7 separate regions of the Homo sapiens genome follow, and regions 1, 2, 3, 5, 6 and 7 are each linked to region 4. The links are contacts of gene promoters, found by promoter capture Hi-C in blood cells and fetal thymus (Javierre and others, 2016). All regions are on one chromosome and are shown on one strand. Each heading gives the region's core, a stretch centred on a gene start or on the middle of the fragment in contact. The rest is flanking DNA. Distances are from core to core; before and after follow the strand shown.

Evidence for each region. Contacts are between HindIII fragments. The CHiCAGO score rates a contact against its expected background, and 5 or more counts as called.
Region 1: a contact is called between a fragment that was not itself captured here and the fragment with the promoter of IL20RB-AS1 in region 4, in 11 of 17 cell types (neutrophils, naive CD8 T cells, total CD8 T cells and 8 more). The highest score is 13.2, in neutrophils.
Region 2: a fragment that was not itself captured here is called in contact with the fragment with the promoter of IL20RB-AS1 in region 4 in 9 of 17 cell types (fetal thymus, neutrophils, naive B cells and 6 more); the score reaches 10.8 in fetal thymus.
Region 3: a contact is called between a fragment that was not itself captured here and the fragment with the promoter of IL20RB-AS1 in region 4, in 15 of 17 cell types (fetal thymus, naive CD4 T cells, total B cells and 12 more). The highest score is 16.6, in fetal thymus.
Region 5: a contact is called between a fragment that was not itself captured here and the fragment with the promoter of IL20RB-AS1 in region 4, in 8 of 17 cell types (naive CD8 T cells, fetal thymus, naive CD4 T cells and 5 more). The highest score is 8.4, in naive CD8 T cells.
Region 6: a fragment that was not itself captured here is called in contact with the fragment with the promoter of IL20RB-AS1 in region 4 in 12 of 17 cell types (neutrophils, monocytes, total CD4 T cells and 9 more); the score reaches 18.5 in neutrophils.
Region 7: a contact is called between a fragment that was not itself captured here and the fragment with the promoter of IL20RB-AS1 in region 4, in 2 of 17 cell types (naive CD4 T cells and naive CD8 T cells). The highest score is 5.7, in naive CD4 T cells.

The regions. Positions count from the first base shown.
Region 1 is chr3:136,054,170-136,056,869 of GRCh38, reverse strand. The region is part of intron 5 of PPP2R3A (protein phosphatase 2 regulatory subunit B''alpha); the gene reads right to left. It also overlaps the pseudogene DONSONP1. Among named protein-coding and RNA genes, the nearest start is that of PPP2R3A, 90 kb to the right of the region's middle. The HindIII fragment of the contact is 5,644 bases long and covers 1-2,700 here.
Region 2 is chr3:136,121,786-136,124,485 of GRCh38, reverse strand. All of the region lies in intron 13 of PPP2R3A (protein phosphatase 2 regulatory subunit B''alpha), which reads right to left. Among named protein-coding and RNA genes, the nearest start is that of MSL2, 73 kb to the left of the region's middle. The HindIII fragment of the contact is 2,936 bases long and covers 1-2,700 here.
Region 3 is chr3:136,081,597-136,084,296 of GRCh38, reverse strand. PPP2R3A (protein phosphatase 2 regulatory subunit B''alpha) reads right to left here. Exons shown (of 14, transcript NM_002718.5): 8 at 1,876-2,032. Among named protein-coding and RNA genes, the nearest start is that of MSL2, 110 kb to the left of the region's middle. The HindIII fragment of the contact is 7,708 bases long and covers 1-2,700 here.
Region 4 is chr3:136,980,868-136,983,567 of GRCh38, reverse strand. IL20RB-AS1 (IL20RB antisense RNA 1) reads left to right here and starts at 1,377. Exons shown (of 4, transcript NR_183729.1): 1 at 1,377-1,505. IL20RB (interleukin 20 receptor subunit beta) reads right to left here. Exons shown (of 7, transcript NM_144717.4): 3 at 1,218-1,408. The HindIII fragment of the contact is 2,087 bases long and covers 538-2,624 here.
Region 5 is chr3:136,141,359-136,144,058 of GRCh38, reverse strand. All of the region lies in intron 13 of PPP2R3A (protein phosphatase 2 regulatory subunit B''alpha), which reads right to left. Among named protein-coding and RNA genes, the nearest start is that of MSL2, 54 kb to the left of the region's middle. The HindIII fragment of the contact is 1,019 bases long and covers 904-1,922 here.
Region 6 is chr3:136,100,783-136,103,482 of GRCh38, reverse strand. PPP2R3A (protein phosphatase 2 regulatory subunit B''alpha) reads right to left here. Exons shown (of 14, transcript NM_002718.5): 11 at 1,301-1,476; 12 at 107-225. Among named protein-coding and RNA genes, the nearest start is that of MSL2, 94 kb to the left of the region's middle. The HindIII fragment of the contact is 3,912 bases long and covers 1-2,700 here.
Region 7 is chr3:136,035,350-136,038,049 of GRCh38, reverse strand. All of the region lies in intron 3 of PPP2R3A (protein phosphatase 2 regulatory subunit B''alpha), which reads right to left. Among named protein-coding and RNA genes, the nearest start is that of PPP2R3A, 71 kb to the right of the region's middle. The HindIII fragment of the contact is 2,514 bases long and covers 52-2,565 here.

The DNA of each region.
Region 1 (2,700 bases), core at 155-2,654, 930 kb after region 4:
TTTTGAGTTCCTTACAAATTTTGGATATTAACACCTTGCCAGATATATGGTTTGCAAATATTTTCTACCATTCTGTAGATTTTCTTTTCACTCTGTTGATTATTTCCTTGACTGTGCAGAAGTTTTTTACTTTGATGCAATTCCATTTGTCTATTTTTTCCTTTGTGCTTTTGGGTTCATATCCAAAAAAAAAATCAATGCTAAGACGAGTGTCACGCAGCCTTACCCCTATGTTTTCTTTACAGTTTCAGGTATTACATTTAAGTCTTTAACCCATTTTCAGTTGATTTTTATATACGGTGTAAGATAAAGGTTTTGTTTTACGGTTCTTATTGTATATAACCTTCCTTAATATAGTACTTTTTAAAATAACTGGTTTTTTTTTTTTAGAATAGTTTTAGGTTTATAAAAAAATTAAGAAAACAGCACTGAGAGTTCCCATATACCCTGCGCCCAGATTCCTCAATTATTAACACCTTACACTTACTATATGGTCCACTTGTTAAAATTAAACTGATATTGACACATTATTTTTAAAGTCCATACTTTATTCACATTTCCTTAATTTTTACCTGATGTCTTCTTTCTATTCCAGTGTTCTATCCAGGTCATCATATTCTATTTAGTTATGTCTCCTTAGACTTCTTTTGGCTGTGACAGTTTCTTAGACTTTCCTTACTTTTGATGACCTTGACAGTTCTGATGAGTACTACTCAGGTATTATGTAGGATATTTCATTACTGGAATCTGCCTGATGTTTTCCTCATGATTAGACTGGGTTTATGGATTTTTGGGAGAAAGGCCAGAGAAGTAACATGTCCTTTGCACCATATCTTGCCAAAGGTACATACTAACAACGTGATTGATGACTGCTGATGTTGGCCTTGATCATCAGACTGAGGTAGTATCTGTCAGGCTCCTCCACTGTAAAGTTACTCCCCACACCCTGAAATCACTATGCATAGCCTACTCTTAAGGAATGGTGATTTACGCTCCCCTCTTTAAGACTGCAGTGTCTACTAAACTGTTTGCAATTCTGCATAGATTTGTTTCTTCTCCCCAATCATTTATTTATATCAGTATGTGCAATTTGTTTTTAAAAAATTCTCATCACCACATTCCATAAAGATGATTTCCCAAGTAGTGGTATTTCTCTAAGTTGCTCCAGAGTCTTAGGGTGCAAACCACAGTTAGTAAGCTCCTTATGAACAACCTCTGTATCAAGTACTTTGTCCATTGGCAGGCAGGTGTTAAATACAGCAGTTGGCTCGTGTGGATACAGTACTGCAGAGAAAGACCCGCTCTGTGAAGATTTGAGCAGCATGGTCAGTGAATGCAGAGAATGAGGCACGATAGAACCTGTAATCTCCAAACTAAACTGGTCTCTGTATCCAGAAAGAGCTGTGTCTTCACATTTACACTTTGTGCCTTAAGCATTTGCATTATGGCACCTCGGAGAGCAACAGGGGATAAGAGGGTCAGAGGAAGTCCTACCTGTGGACCTGAGGTAGCAACTAAACTCTTAGAGTTGATCAAAAAATTGAGCAATGTAAAGATGTTGATTCCTTTCACCAACACAACAGACTCAGGTCTGTGATCCATTTGTACTTCATGTTTCTTTTTACGCAGCTTGATAGAAAGTATGTCTGGCTTTTTAATTTTATCTTGCACAGTCATCTCTTCTATATTTATAACTGGAGATCCTGAACACCAAAGTAAGCCTAAAAGGAATCTTTGAGGAAAAAAGCCTTGTAGCAAGCAAAGTCAAAATTCTTGAAGTTAAGGAAATATACTTTAAAATATTGAAATGTTTATAAACATTAACTTTTATTACATGCACTGAGCAGTAGCATTTTAAGGTTTTAAATCAGTGTTTTCTGCTTTTACTATTTTCAGATTAAATTTTTAGATATAAAGATAAAAAACTCAGAGAACTCAAATGAGATATCTATATCCCTACAACCGAATTATATAGTGAGTAGAAAACTGAATTAATGCATTTCTTTGCAAACAGGAAATTGAGACTAAACACACAGCAGCTATCTCATGGCATTCTGACCAATGGCATCAGGGCAAAAATATGTTACTTTACCATTTACCTAAGACTGTTAGCAGGTTCTTGTTTTACAAAGGTAGAAAATAAATGTAGACAACATCTACTGAGCTGACTGATGATGCCTTTACCTGAACATCTTTCCTACTGATTTATAATTCCTTTATTTTCACATATACTAAATATTTTTAAATGCATGTTAATTCAGATAAAAAGGCATTTTGTATTCCACATAGAATAGCGTTAAGAATTGTGAAGTAGGCTGGACGCGGTGGCTCATGCCTGTAATCTCAGCACTTTGGGAGGCCGAGGTGGGCGGATCACGAGGTCAAGAGATCCAGACCATCCTGGCCAACATGATGAAACCCCATCTCTACTAATAATACAAAAATTAGCTGGGTGTGGTGGCGCGTGCCTGTAATCCCAGCTACCTGGGAGGCTGAGGAAGGAGAATTGCTTGAACCCGGGAGGCGGAGGTTGCAGTGAGCCAAGATCGTGCCACTGCACTCCAGCCTGGCGACAGGGCGAGCCTCCAACTCAAAAAAAAAAAAAAAAAAAAAAAAGAATTGTGAAGTATACCGAGCTGTCATGGCAAAGTAGTATTTAATGTGCTTATAGGTGTATGTGTATGTGTGTAGGGGGAATTA
Region 2 (2,700 bases), core at 124-2,623, 860 kb after region 4:
TTGAGACAAGGTCTCAGTTTGTCACTTGGGCTGGAGTGCAGTGGTGTGGATCGTAGCTCACTGTAACCTCAAACTTCTGGGTTCAAGCAATCCTCTTGCTTCAGCCTCTCAGGCAGCTAGAACTATAGGTGTATGCCATCCCCATGCCCGGCTAATTCTGTAGAAGTGGGGTCTCGCTGTGCTGCCCAGTCTGATCTTGAACTCCTGGCCCCACGCAATCTTCCCAACTTGTCCTCCCAGAGTGCTCAGATTACTGGCATGAGCCACTGTGCCCAGTCCATCCCATATATTTTCACATGTTCTTTTCATTCATTTAAAGATAATTTTGAATTTCCCTGTGGTTTTTTCTTTGACCTATGCATCTTAAGAGTGTGTCATTTAATTTCCAAATATTTTGGTGTTCCCAGATCTGTTTTCTAATTTAATTCAATTTTTAATCAAACAACATATTTATATTATTGTAATCATTTGAATTTATCAAGTCTTATTTTATCTGCCAAAGATGTGGTCTGGAAAAGTTCTGTGTACACCTGGATGAAACAGTGTATATATATTTTTGTTGTTTTGTGGAGTGTGCCCTAATAATGATTAAATCAAATGTGTTGACTATTAAGTCTTCTGTATCCTTGAGTGTCTGCAATCGTTCTATCAATTACTGAATGAGAAGTGTTGAAATCTCCAACTGTAATTGTTGACTTATCTATTTCTCCTTTCAAGTCTGGAAATTTTTATTTAATGTATTTTGTGGCTGTGTTGTTTGATACACATACATTTAAAATGATCACATCTGGCTACTGCATTTTAACACTAGTGAAGCAGGAATATTTATGTTTGTTTCCTGGGTAAAATGTCTGTCTTTTGAACTGGACAATATTTATGTTCTTACTATTGATTTTGAAGAACCCTATTTATAAAACAAAATATTGGTCATATGATGCAACCCAGTTTGCCCTTTGATTGTGATGCAGAATTTTGTCACTTTTTTGGGTTACTTTTAAAATTTACTCAAATCTATAAATAATTTCCTTATACATTTCTTCCATTACTTTTATGCTTTTAAAGTCTTTATTTTCATGCAGACATTAGTTTAATATGCATTTATTTTGCCCCACCATGGAGAACCAACATTTTACTGACTAGCCTTTTCCTGACACATTTAACATGCTATCTTTATCATATGCTACCCATTGCTATGCATAATTTTTCTGTTTTGACGTGAATAATATACTTGCTTTAATTATTACTATGGTTTTATATAGTCCATCTCTCCTGTACCCCACCATACCTTTGTTTCTTTTCATAACTCATTGCTATTCTGTGTCCTTATTATGCCATGGGAACTTTAAAACTAGCTTACTAAGTTCCACAACGTATTTTGGGGGATAAATTATATTAAATTAATAAATTAACACAGCAACTGGTCATTTTTAACTGGTTATTTCTGGGATATGGAACTAAAACCCTTTATCCATTAAAGAGTTACTTATCTTAGTTTGCTTAGTTTTAAGATTTTTTCCCCCAAACTACAAAATATATTAAATTTTATGAGATGCCTTCAAAGAATCAATTTAAATTTTTATAATTTTGTCTCCTTTAATCGCTAATGACAGATTTTGTAAGGATAAACTAATGTTCCAGTCCTGGGATAACACCCATTTACTTCTGATGTATTCTTTTATACATTGAGAGATTTGACAATTTACATAATCTTCTGTGGTTCAGTTTTCGTTAACTGTAACATAACAGTATCCAACACATAGGGCTCTGTGAGCACAATGAATTAAAATATGTAGAACAGTGCTTGTTACATAGTATGCTCTCTGTGTGTATGTATAAATAGATTTTTTTGTTGTTGTTTACGTAGAAGTGTTTGATTTCTTCCTAATATATACAGTTGACCCTTGAATAATATCGGTCTGAACTTCATGGGTCTTCTTATACATGGATTTCCAACAAAATGCAGGTAAAAATACAGTATTCAAGGGATGCAAAACTCATATATATTTAACTGCAGGAGGGTAAACTTTCATATATGTGGGTTTTTGCAAGGCTGACTGTGGGACTTGACTATATGCAAATTTGGGTACACACAGGCAGTCCTGGAATCAATCCTTCACATATATGGAGGGAGAGTTGTACTTTATTTTGTCATCCTGTTTCTTTTCAAGTCTGAGGCTCACTTTGTCACCCAGGATGGAGTGCAGTGGTGTGATCATAGTTCACCATAACGTTAAACTTCTGGGCTCAAGTGATCCTTCCGCCTCAGCTTCCCAGAGTGTTGGGGTTACAGGTGTGAGTCACCGTGCCCAGCTATGTCATCCTTTTTCATGCATCTTGAATGGATTGCCTAATTCATTTATTTCAGTATACAGGCTACAAATTTCTTCCTGTCCATATCCCACAGGTTGTAATAAATAGAATACTTTCATTGTCTGGTTCTAAAAAGATCGTAATTTGTATTTTTTTGATTTTTTAAGCAAAAGATTTCCTTTTTTGCTTAAAGGTTATCTTAAAATATATTTTTAAACCTTCAGAATTTTATGTTTTGAGAATTCTCAGGTATTGCATTGGAAGGGAACATTGGGAAAAAAATCAGCTAGACTTCTGTTAGATAATCAAGTGAAAACCTAGCATGTTGAGATTTGGAATTACAGTTTAGTGAAAATATTCTCAATTTCATCTTCCAAATCTTCTGCTGAG
Region 3 (2,700 bases), core at 186-2,685, 900 kb after region 4:
CCTGAGCTGTATGTTGGCCCCTTTAAGCCATGGCTGGAGCTGAAACAGCTGGGATGCAGGTCACCATGTTCAGAGGCTGCATAGAGCAGGGGGGGCCCCAGGCCTGGCCCAGAAAACCATTTTTCCCTCCTAGGCCTCCAGGCCTGTGATGGGAGGGGCTGTCATGATGGTCTCTGACATGCCCTGGAGACATTTTCCCCATTGTTTTGGTGATTAGCATTTGACTCCCCATTATTTATGCAAATTTCTGCAGTGGGCTTGAATTTCTCCCCGGAAAATGGGTTTTTATTTTCTACTGCATTATCAGGCAGCAAATTTTCCAAACTTTTATGCACTGTCACTTCTTGAATGCTTTGCTGCTTAGGAATTTCTTCCACCACATACCCCAAATCATCTCTTTCAAGTTCAAAGTTCCACAGATCTCTAGGGCAGGGGCAAAATGCCAAGTCTCTTTGCATAGCAAGAGTGACCTTTACTCCAGTTCCCAACAAGTTCCTCATCTCCACCTGAGATCACTTCAGCCTGGATTTTATTGTCCATATCACTATCAGCATTTTGGTTAAAGCCATTCAAGTCTCTAGGAAGTTCCAAACTTTCCCACATGTTCCTGTCTTTATCTGAGCCCTCCAAACTGTTCCAACCTCTGCCTATTACCTAGTTCCAAAGTCCCTTCCACATTTTCGGGTATCTTTACAGCAGCGCCCCATGCTACTGGTACCAATTTACTATATTAGTCTGTTCTCATGCTGCTAGTAAAGACATACCTGAGACTGGGTAATTTATAATGGGAAGAGTTTAATGGACTCATAGTTCCACATGGCTGAGAAGGCCTCACAATCATGGCGGAAGGCAAAGGAGAAGCAACAGCACATGTTACAGGGTGGCAGGCAAGAGAGCATGTGCAGAGGAACTCCCCTTTATAAAACCATCAGCTCTCATGAGACTTATTCACTATCATGAGAACTACATGGGAAAGACCCACTCCCATGATTCAATTACCTGCCACCAGGTCCCTGCCACAACAGGTGGGGATTATGGGAGCTACAATTCAAGATGAGATTTGGGTGGGAACATAGCCAAACCATACCACCATCTTTACAAAAAAATACAAAAAAATTAGCCAGGTATGGTGGCATGTGCCTGTAGTCCCAGCTACTTAGGGGCTGAGGTGGTAGGATGGCTTGAGCCCAGGAGGTTGAGGTTACAGTGAGCCGTGTTCATGCTTCTGCATTCCAGCCTAGGTGACAAAGTGAGACGCTGTCTCAAAAAAACCAAGGATATTAAATCAGTAGGCAACAGGTTCTAGATTTACCGCTGGCAAAAATGAAGTAAAAAGGGTATTATCATGTGATATGTAATTTTTTGTTTTCTGACAAAAGAAAGCACGCAAAATTCATCTGCAGAGACGTATCTTTCTGGAACAAAATTTCCAAAAGTAAATTTTTGTGAGTCCTTGAAAATAAAACTTGGCAAGTTAAAAACATTATTTTCATGCTTGGCTTTTTACAGAAATATTGTTAAGTGGGAAGGGTTATAAAGGTGTATACATATTCTCTTTCAAACAGATTTAAACAGGTGTGGATCTTATTCAATTCATCATCAGAAAATACACACCAGTATAAAGACTCATCGCTTTATCAAAACTAAGACTGTGATTGGTTACTTACTTCCAAACTCCTTCTCCTACATCTGGCCTTTTATTAATTTAATAAAAAATTATATTATCTTCACTCATCCCCTCTTAAAAATTATTGGCCTGTAAAGAGGACTTGATTAGGTTTAGAATTTAGCAAACGGGAATTTCTCATAATGAGTAGTGATAATTTATATAACTCTTTAAAATGGTTAAGTCTTAGCATCTACAGAATCACTTACCCTGGTCATTGTATCGAGACAGATCGGCCTGGCTGATGTAGAGGTCGTGATCAGTATCTAGTTCCCAGAATTTACAATAAATAACATAGAAATGTTCATAGGAGAAGTAATCTGTAATTTGGTTTATATCTTCCTCTTCTTCCAAAAGTGCTAGGGTCTGAAATTATATGAAAAGAAGAATTTAAACATTATGAAAAAGCAGCTTTGGCCACTGTGCAGAGTCTAGCGAATTTCTGTTTTAAACTGAATTTAAAATTTTTTTCTGGTACCAAATCAGAAACCCTTTAATAGGCAACCTCATCCTACCTTTAATCAACCAATCAATCTATAAGCATTTACTGAGCTCTGTAATATGCTCAGTGAAGGGCTGGATGCTGTGGAGGATGTAAAAGCAGGGGAAGGGAAGTACCATTACCTTGGGGACTATAGTTGGTCAGAGGTCAGAGACTGGCATGAAAAGAACAATTAGATCATAGTCTTAATTATTTGGCCAGAAACAAATACTGTTTTTAATTTTCAAAGTTATGTGAGCAACATTAAGAGGGGTAGGCATCAACATATAGGGTTTCATTTTGTAATAAAATTAAGTTTATATCACAAAGGTTACTCATATATACAATAGTGATGATACATGGTGGCCTGGCATAGGCATGGCAGGTAGAGATGCAGGGCCCTGAGCTGGAAGTAAACCTGGGTCTTCCCTGACTCACTGTACTCCCCTACGGCAAAATCCAGAATCAATGATACTGAACCCACAATTCTGTTGTCAGCCAAATTATTATGTAAGTGGGCAGATAAATAAAGACATATTCAGAAGTGAAAGAT
Region 4 (2,700 bases), core at 128-2,627:
TTTCTAAATCAGCCATGTTTCTTGGATTCATCATCTCCTTCCCATCCCCTTCCAAACTCTTGGGATCAGTAGGAGTATTACAACCCCCTCCTCACTCTTCCCCTGTCCTGCAGGCTTGCCCTACTCTGGTTCACTTTCCACACAGCAGCCAGAGTGTTGCTTTGTAAGATAGACCTGGTCGGCCGGGCGCCATGGCTCATGCCTGTAATCCCAGCACTTTGGGAGGCCGAAGTGGGCAGATGACTTGAGGTCAGGAGTTCCAGACCAGCCTGGAAAACATAGTGAAACCCTGTCTCTACTAAAAATACAAAAATTAGCCAGGCATGGTGGTGCACGCCTGTAGTCCCAGCTACTCAGGAGGCTGAGGCAGGAGAATCACTTGAACCCAGGAGACAGAGGTTGCAGTGAGCTGAGATCACGCCACTGCACACCAACCTGGGTGACAGAGTGAGACTCCGTATCAAAAAAAAAAAGAGATAGACCTGGTCTAGATCCTCTCCTCTTTCATTGGCTACCCTCTACTGACTTGGTCAAGCTTCGTGTCAAAGCCCTTCACCACATGATCAACTGCTTCCCTACCCCCTGCCCATCAGCCCTTGCCTCTCCTGTTCCGCAAACACACATGTCCTTTTATACAATGACCAGTGCTTGTACTCAGCCACATTTGGCCACCTATCTGGATTCCTCTATTACTTCTTTCTCAATCCTTTTCCAGGTACTACTCCAAAAGAAAAGTTATTTATTTCCCACAGAAGTCATTACAGAAGGGCAATTTTCTGGTGGCTCTGTTAAGTGTATAAATCCTCTTGCACAACAAAGCTGCTTACGTGGGCAGTAAATATGCAGTTAATGAGGCCTCAAGTGGGAGGCACAATTTATGGAGGCACAATCAGAGTAGGGAGCAGCAGTCCTGGTGCCACCTCTTCACTTCCAGAGCAGCTTTCCTTCCAGGTTCCCAATGTCAGCATCCCCAACACCTGCACACCCTGACACAGACAGTCAGGAATGACTTGAGTAGTCAAAGGGCATGACAGAGAGCAGCATGTAGAAAGCAGTTGGCAATTTTTCAAATATACCAGTAAGGGTTGTTTGTGTTCACAATACTCTGGCTTTGCAGGACTATTCTGATGCTAAAAAGAGTCTAGAAAGTTTAGGTGAACATGGTTCCTAAAGGAGGGGCTGGTTGGGGTGGGAGTGTAAGGAGAGAAGTGCCTTACTTGAGTTTCTATTAAAGGGATGCTTCAGGATGCTCCAGGCTGAGGTCTGTGAGCCCAATGTGGCCCTGACACGAAGGTTGTATGGCACAGTGGCCGTGATGTCATCAGTGACATCACACTCAGGACCTTCAGTGAGTGAGCACCAGCTGCTGGGGATCCAGATGTGGCTCGTGTACAGGCTCTCGTACTCCCTGTCAAAGAGAGGAGGGCACAGAGTTACACCAGCCCCTCTGACACAGGCTCAGTTATGGTTGCAAGTAACTGACTTCGTTCACCTACTTTGTACAGGTAAGTAAAATAAGTACTTTCTCATTATCCTAGCTCCTCCACTCTCCTCCCTACCAACCATCCATCGTCCCTTACTCCTTTTATTGCCAGATAGGGAAAGCTAGGCATAAACATCAATGTGTCTGGATCTCTTTTATCTCTTCATCTCCAGGGTCATCACCCTAATCTCAGCCACTGTCATTCCTTGCCTTGCTGTGATCTCCCAGCTTGGACACCTGCCATTCTCAAAACCATTCACCACTCAGCAGATTGTGACGTTTCTCTCCTTAATGGCTTCCTACAGGACTTAGAATGGGATCCAAACTCTTGCCAGTGGTCTTACAAGATGCTTTGGCCTTCTCTCTCACTCTGCTCCGAAGCGTGATATTCTTGCCACATTGGTCATTTCTCCAAAATGCTGAGCACTTTTTGCCTTAGGACCTTTGACTAACTGTTCACTCCATCTCAAACGCTCTGCCCCTGCTGTTCGCATGGCTGGCTCCTCTTGTCCTTCAGATATGGCATAAATATCACCTCCTCAGAGAGGCCATCCCAGGCCATCTAATATAAAGGAGCCTCAGTGTCAACTCTCTATGGCATCAGCCTTTTAGCTTCCTCCTAGCACTGATTACTATCCAAAATTCCCTAGAGCAGTGCTTTCCAAAAATAAACTTTCTGTGATGATGCAAATATTCTAAATCGATGTTGTTCAATATGGTAACCACTGGCCACATGTGGCTATTGAACACCTAAAATGTGACTAGTGTGGCAGGAAACAGACATTTTAATTTAATTTAATTTAATTTAATTTAATTTAAATTTAAATAGCCAGCTGTGGCTGGTGGCTACCATACTAGAGAATGCTGGCCTAGTATATTTATCATCTGTATCCTCCTCTAGATGTAAGCTCTCAAAATCCAGAAACCTTGTCAACTGTATCCCTGAGCCTAGAAGAATGTCTACACATGTAGGTGTTCAGTCTGTATTCATTGTTAATGAAATATATGGAGCAATTTCTGTGTCCTTATCACTATTCAATAGCTGCAAGCACCTGAACACCTGGAGAAGACTAGAGCCTGCTCAGCCCCAGGGCCAGCTGACCTTTAGGATTATAGTTCGTTTTGGCTCTAGGTATAAGCTTATAGTCAGGAAAAGTGAGGACTCCTCCACCCTTAAAGGATCTGAGTCTCCAGTGATTTATCCATCTCAAGTCAGA
Region 5 (2,700 bases), core at 164-2,663, 840 kb after region 4:
TTCTGAGGCTATATCTCTGAGCCTCATATGTAGATATGTACATCAGAAAAATGTACATCAGCAATGTCTATTATAGTATTTGACATCACTGGCTTAGCCCTTGCAGGGATCTCCCACAATATTTAAGCAGGAATTTGTGGACATACAGTCCCTTCATCAAAAAGGTACCAATTGGGGCCAATTAGTGAGGGAAAATATGCTGAGGTAGGTATATACAGTAAGTGGCACCTATTCAAGTTCCTAAAACATTGTGTGTGTTTTTTCTTTTGAGATGGAGTCTCGCTGTGTCGCCCAGGCTGGAGTACAGTGGGGCCATCTTGGCTCATTGCAACCTCTGCCTCCCAAGTTCAAGTGATTCTCCTGCCTCAGCCTCCCGAGTAGCTGGGATTTACAGGCATGTGCCACCATGCCCGGGTAATTTTTGTATTTTCAGTAGAGACAGGGTTTCACCATGTTTGCCAGACTGGTCTTGAACTCCTAACCTCAAGTGATCCACCTGTCTCGGCCTCCCAAAATGCTGGGATTACAGGCATGAGCCACTGCGCCCAGTCAACATCTTTTTGTTTTTGAGATGGAGTCTTGCTCTGTTGCCCAGGCTGGAGTGCAGTGGCATGATCTTGGTTCACTGCAACCTCTGCTTTCTGGGTTCAAGCAATTCTCCTGCCTCAGCCTCCCAAGAAGCAGGGATTACGGACGTATATCACCACTCCTGGCTGGTTTTTGTGTTTTCTTAGTAGCAACAGGGTTTCGCCATGTTGGCCAGGCTGGTCTTCAACTCCTGACCTCAGGTGATCCACCCCCATCAGCCTCCCAAAGTGCTGGGATTAAAGGTGTGAGCCACTGCACCCAGCCTAGGCCAACATTTTTGAATAGAGGTTAGAGGTTTAAACCTTTTAAAAAGCTTACTTGATAGAAAATTGTTCCCTATGACTACCAGTTTATGATACTGTCAAAAGTTATAATTTGTTCATTTAATAAAAATATTCCATTCCATTCTTGTTTCCACTCCTCTTCCCCCATCTCCTTGAGGCCTCAATGCGGCATGGGATGTGCTGGATAAGGAGGCAATAGGAGAGGAACTTTCCGCTAATGCAAGTGAAATGGTTGATGGCAGAGCCTCTGTTCTGGGGAACAAAATTCTCAAAACCAATGCTGCTGATTTCTTGTCAGGATGGGAGCATCTTCCCCTTGGTGCCCTAACGTGTTGTCTGTAAGCTATCAGTGTTAAATACCTCAGTGTAGGTCTATGAATAACGCATATTTTCAGAGTTAAGTGTGAAGTGTGACTCATTCAGTAAATATTTGAACTCCTGTTGCTAAGTGTCAGAGCCAAATGCTAGGATTATAATGATGAAAAAGACTGAATCAGCCCTCTCCTCACAGCACTTGAAGCCTAATGGAGACCTTATGGAGTTAGGGGTTAAGTGATTTAGGCTTAGAGCACAGGCTTTGGAGTCAGACTATAAAAGTCAGGTTCCAATCTGGGTTTGATCACTTAATGTGATTTTGGGCATGTTGGTGAGTGACACCTAATCCTATATTGGGGGAGGGATTATACATTTTTGTGTATGTCATTTTTGAATAAAACATTTGCAAAAGGAAGTTCATTCAATAACCCTCCTTTGTCAGCATCCTGGAGACTCCTCTTAATTTTGGTGGTTCTCAACTAGGGTGATTTTGTCCCCCGCCGCCAGGGGACATTTGGGCATGTCTGGAGACATGTCTGTGTCTTGACTGTCACCACTGAGTGGGTCCTACTGGCATCTAGTGGGTAGAGTGCAGGGATGGTGCTAAACATCCTACAATGTGCCGTATGTCTCACAATAAAATTACCCATCTTAGAACTCTTGCTCCTTCAATGCCAGTGCGTCCCAGGTTCTGGACTAATAAGCTCTTCTCGTTTTGTACTTCCCTGGTAAGCTTAGTCTTTCCCATGGCTTTACTCACTGCCTACTCACCTGTGGTTTCCAAACTATGTCCAGCCTCAGCCTCTTTCTAAGCTGGAGAACTCCATATATCCAGCTGCCTACTATATAGATGGCTCTTTCAGAACAGCAGCATGTATAAACTTGAACTCATCTTTCCCACTGCCCTGGTTCTCCCTATTTTAGTCAATGGCACTGTCATCTGCCCACTCAAAGCCAGAAACTCGGTTATCCCAAGTTCCTCTTTCCTCACCTCACTACAGTTGACCATATGGATACAACCCTGCCTCTTCCTCCCTACCACCACTGGCTTAAGTTCAGGGTACCATACTTTCTTGTTTGGATTACACTCTTGCCACATATCCTTTGCTACTGCCATACCAGGCTGTTTATAGTGTTGGAATAGGTTATGGTCTTGGGACCTAATGCCACTGTACATGTTTTTCAATTGCCTGAAATGCCCTTCCCTCTTTGGCTAGCTTGTGTTCATCTTTTAATCTGAGATGTCATGTACAGGTTTTCTGATTATTCACTCCTGAATTAATTAACCACATCTCTGATTCAGATGTATGTAATGGCTTCCTTATTTGTCTCCCTACTTCTGTTCTTGCACTTCCACTAATCTGGCAGAATAATCTTCAGAAAACCTAAGGGGTAGGGATTATATCACTCCCTTGCTTAACAATTTTCAGTGGCTTCCCTAGGCCCTGCATGATCTGGCCCCTGCTAGACTTTGTAACCACATCTCCCTCTGTTGCTCACTATATTCTGGCCA
Region 6 (2,700 bases), core at 116-2,615, 880 kb after region 4:
GTTACCTCTTTACCGAAATTCCAGCATGCAGAGACCATGTTAATATGTAGCACACACAGCCCCTGACACTGCAGCCCTCAAATAAAAGTTAAAATTATACTGTTACCTTCTGGACCGCAAAGGGATCTCTCTGTTCATGGTCTAAGTATTTCTCCAGATTAAAGAAAGTGTCATAGAAGATGTGAGCCATTCTGCACCTCTTCAGATCTCTTAGAGTTATTTTGCCTACATAAAAATAAACAAATCTGGTAAATTTCATCAAGAGCTGTTTTGGCAAGAGGAAAAAACTTTCCCTGACATCTAAAAGTATAGGTATATGTTTATTATAAAAGTCCTATTTTCAGAATAAAAAAATTTAAATCTCATTTCTTTTTTCAAGGGTATCAATTTCTCAAACCCATTTCTTTTATTGAGGTAAAATTCACTAATAAAGTTCACCATTTAAACAATTTTAAAGTGCATAATTCAGTGGCTTTTAGTACACTCACAATGTTGTACAACCATTACCACTATCTAGTTCTGTAATAATATCATCACCCCAAAAGGAAACTCTGTGCCCATCAAGCAGTCCCTCCCATCTCTCCTCATGTGCTTTCTGTGTCTAAGGAAAAATCTTCTTTCATCCCCCAAACCCCGCTTTCATTTTCTTTTTAAAAAAGAGATACAGTCTCGCTGTGTTGCCTAGGCTGGAGTGCAGTGGCTACTCACAGGAACAATCATAATGCAATCCTCCCACCTCAGCATCCTTAGTAGCAGGGACTACAGGCATACACCACTGTGCCTGGTGTAAAATCCTATTTCTTAAATAGCAGACTTGCCATCAATTGCTACACTAAGCCTGGGCATGGTGACTCACGCCTGTAACCCCAGCACTTTGGGAGACCGAGGTGGGTGGATCACCTGAGGTCAGGAGTTCGAGACCAGCCTGGCCAACATGGTGAAACCCCATCTCTACTAAAAATACAAAAATTAGCTGGGCATGGTGGTGGTTGCCTGTAGTCCCAGCTACTTGGGAGGCTGAGGCAGGAGAATCACTTGAACCCAGGAGGCGGAGGTTGCAGTGAGCTGAGATCACACCATTGTACTCCAGCCTGGCAGACAAAGCGAGACTGCATCTCAAAAAAAAAAAAAAAAAAAAAAGTTGCTACACTAATAGTCAAGGAGAAACTTTAAACACTTCTGTCCTAGGAAGTCTTCTATCAAGACTCTGAAATGTTAAATAATTTAGGACAATCTAGGATTCTTTGCCCTCCTCTGATACATAGGTGAACAGTGCATCTGTCCCATTGCTTGGTCTCACCATCAACAGCTGGCTTCACTAGGTCAAGCATCTGGCACAGTAAATCATGGAATGGCAAGGGCTCAATTCCCATGGCTTCCATCCGTTCACACTGCTCCTCATAGAAGTACTCCAGCTCATACATGGAGAGTACACCGTCTCCATCCACATCCATGCAGCGGAACCAATACTCAATGCTAGATGATAAGGACAATCATTATCATGGGCCTGGTAAAGACCTTTTATTTATCCAGATTTAGTATGTTTCTTTTAAAGTAAAAGTTACATATTACATACACTTCAGGCTTAGATATAGTTTTACAAAGTTTGTTAGAGAAAATGGCGGACCCCTTCTTCCCTTTATTTTTCCACCCAGAATCAACCGTGTTCAACCCCATTTTGCTTTTTACCTTCCTATTTTCAGATAACACGTCTATATCGCTCCTTTCTTGTATTTATTTTCAGAACTATTATTAGAGGCTGGGCACGGTGGCTCATGCCTGTAATCCCAGCACTTTGGGAGACTGAGGTGGGCAGATCACTTCAGGTCAGGAGTTTGAGATCAGCCTGGCCAACATGGTGAAACCCTATCTCTACTAAAAATACAAAAAACTAGCTGCGCATGGTGGTGCATGCCTGTAATCTCAGCTACTTGGGCGGCTGAGGTGGGAGGATTGTTTGAACCTGGGAGGTGGAGGGTGCAGTGAGCCAAGACTGCGCTGCTGCACTCCAGCCTGGGTGAAAGAACGAGACTCCCGCCTCAAGATAAAAACCAACTAAACAACCAACCAACCAAACAAAAAGTAGATTTCACATTATGAAAGTTGAACTTTAGTTCTTCTGTAATTTGTCACCACTTTACCTACACGCCCTTCTCATCCTCTTAACACAGTTAACTTGCTCAACATTCAGAATTTATAATTTTATATTTTTCTTTTATCTATTTGCTTAGTTTTCTGTGTACTTGCTACTAATTCAACCCCCAAATTCTGCCAGTTGTCTAAATCCACACTCAGTTCCATGAGGTGCTCTGTCAATTGCATGTTCTTGATGAAGTCTTCCTTGGTTGCTTCTGACCTACTCTAATCTGGGCTGCTTAGTCTCTAGGCCTCGCTCAGTTTCATCCAGGGATTCCTTTCGCCTTTCTCCTAATTCTTGTTTCTTGCATTTTCCTCATTCTTTGTTTCCTCATTATTTTGTTACTCTGCGCATTCTCTAGTAGCTTCTTGAATGAAAGAGCATGGCAGGTACATTTTTTGAGATCTTGGGTCTTTGAAAATGCCTTTTTTCTACCCTCTAATATGGTTGGTATTTTGGCTAGTTATAGAATTAGAGGTTTGTGGTGTTTTGCCTTCAGATTTTTTGTTTTAACTTTAGAGATGGGGTCTCACTCTGCTGCCCAGGCTGGAGTAGAGGCACAA
Region 7 (2,700 bases), core at 59-2,558, 950 kb after region 4:
AATCTGAAGGCAAGAAAATAGCACTTTTATTAATAGAAGAGAGAACAAGCTTTTTCTTGTTGAAGTGTGAAGTGTGAATACTGACATTTTGTTTTTGTTTTTTTTTTTACAAAGGAAGAGTGGATAGCAAGTGGGTATACACAGAGATACAGAAAATAGATTTAGGAAACTTATTTTTAGAGGGGGAGGCGAGTCAATATATGGTAATCAAAGTTCTGGAGCAAAGAAAACTTGATCAACACCTACGATTTGATCTAAGAATGGCCAACAAAACAAATAATCCAAAGCAAGGTTGTCTAATGATACACATAGGAGAGGATGATTACCCAATGTTTGTAATCTTCTTTCAACATTTAAAGATGTCTCAGGCTTGTAATTTCATTTGGCCTTCACGTGATCCTCACATAGATGAGGGCAGTGATTTTTTTAATCCCATTTTACAGATGAAGAAATTCAGGTACAGAGAGGCTACCTTCCAGGCCACAGGTGTGATGGGTAAAGATGGTGCTATGTCAGCCAGAAGACAGGAGCTGCGGGGCTTTGTATGGTTCAGAAAAGAGTCTTATTCCTTTTCCTCAACTTTCTGCTAGAAGTTAAAACTCCATGATGAATCCTTTGGCCCAGTCTCTGAAAAATGCATTTCTTACTGTTTCTCTGTTTCTGTTCCTAAGTTGCTTTCATTTCTCTGAGATTCATTCTCTATTCTTTTCTTCTCTATCATTACTTAAAGCTGTGGAAAAACGTACAAACTACACACTGAGAATTTAACCAGATGTAAGCATTAAGTTCTTCAGGGCTGTTTGAGGTCTAAGATGAATGAGCTAAACTTCACCAACAGATGCAGATTCCATAAACACAGAGTTTTCTAGGCACTTAAAAACAGATCCCAGTCTTTACAGCTACACTTGAGTGCCACTAAGAGTAAGCGGCAAACTCAAGCTGGTCTTCCAAATAACTTTATAAACTACAAGAATCCATAAGAACATTCATTTATTGCTCTAACAAACTCTCTCCTCCTTACTCCTTAAAGGTTGCCTCTCTTCTCCTCTTTCCTATGCCAACCTATCATAAGAATATGAACAGTAAGTGCTGGAGACACAGAGCTCACTGCCTGGTACCAGAAAAGACTTGCATGCATAGTAAAGAACTGTCGAAAATAAGGATGACTTAGTGAGTACTAATAGACTGCAATAGCCAAGTAAAAGCTAAATTAAAAGAGAATTAGGAGTAATAAAAAGTCTCTGAGGACTGAGGGGATCATGGTGGACGGGAGGCAGGACTAGACTGCAGCTCCAACTTGGGACAGACAGAGCAGTGTGTGGAGGCTTGCAGTGAGAATTTTCGCTCCAGAACAACTGCAGGAATAAATCAGGAAACCTGAGAAGACCCACAGACCCCCTGAAGGAAGCGGACTGTTCCTGTGGGACCCAAGAGGCACCCCAAATACTGTGCTGGTATACACAGCTGAGAGACCCACAGAGGGTTCACATCACAGGACGCTGTGCAGACAACCCCCAGTAGCAGTCCAGAGCCTGGACTTGCTGGGCGGCTAGATCCAGAAGAGAGATAACAATCACTACAGCTTGGCTCTCAAGAAGCCACATCCATAGGAAAAGGGGGAGAGTACTAAATCAAGGGAACACCCTGTGGGACAAAAGAATCTGACTAACAGCCTTCAGCCCTAGACCTTTCCTCTGACAGAGCCTACCCATATGAGAAGGAACCAGAAAACCAACTCTGGTTATATGACAAAACAATGTTCTTTAATACCTTCAAAAAATCACACTAGCTTATCAGCAATGGACCCAAACCAAGAAGAAATCCCTGATTTACCTGAAAAAGAATTCAGAAGGTTAGTTATTAAGCTAATCAGGGAGGCACCAGAGAAAGGCAAAGCCCAATGTAAGGAAATCCAAAAAATGATACAAGTGAAGGGAAAAATATTCAAGGAAATAGCATAAATAAAAAACAATCAAAACTTCAGGAAACAATGGACACACTTATAGAAACGCAAAATGCTCTGGAAAGTCTCAGCAATGGAACTGAACAAGCAGAAGAAAGAAATTCAGAGCTCAAAGACAAGGTCTTCAAATTAACCCAATCCAACAAAGACAAAGAAAAAAAAAAGAAAATATGAACAAAGCCTCTAAGGAGTCAAGAATTATGTTAAACGACCAAACCTAAGATTGATTGGTGTTCCTGAGGAAGAAGAGAAATTTAAAGTTTGGAAAACATACTTGGGAGAATAATTGAGGAAAACTTCCCCAGCCTTGCTAGAGACCTAGACATCCAAATACAAGAAGCACAAAGAACATCTGGGAAATTCATCACACAAAGATCACTGCCTAGGCACACTCTCATCAGGTAATCTAAAGTTAAGATAAAGGAAAGAATCTTAAGAGTGGTGACACCAAAGTACTACGTAACCTAAAAAGGAAAACCTATCAGATTAACAGCAGATTTCTCAGCAGAGCCCTACAAGCTAGAAGGAATTGCGGCCCTATCTTCAGCCTCCTCAAACAAAACAATTATCAGCCAAAATTTTGTATCCAGCAAAACTAAGCTTCATATGTAAAGAAAAGATAGTCTTTTTCCGAAAAACAAATGCTGAGAGAATTCGCCACTACCAAGCCACCACTACAAGAACTGATAAAAGGAGCTCTAAATCTTGAAACAAATCCTGGAAACACCCAAAACAGA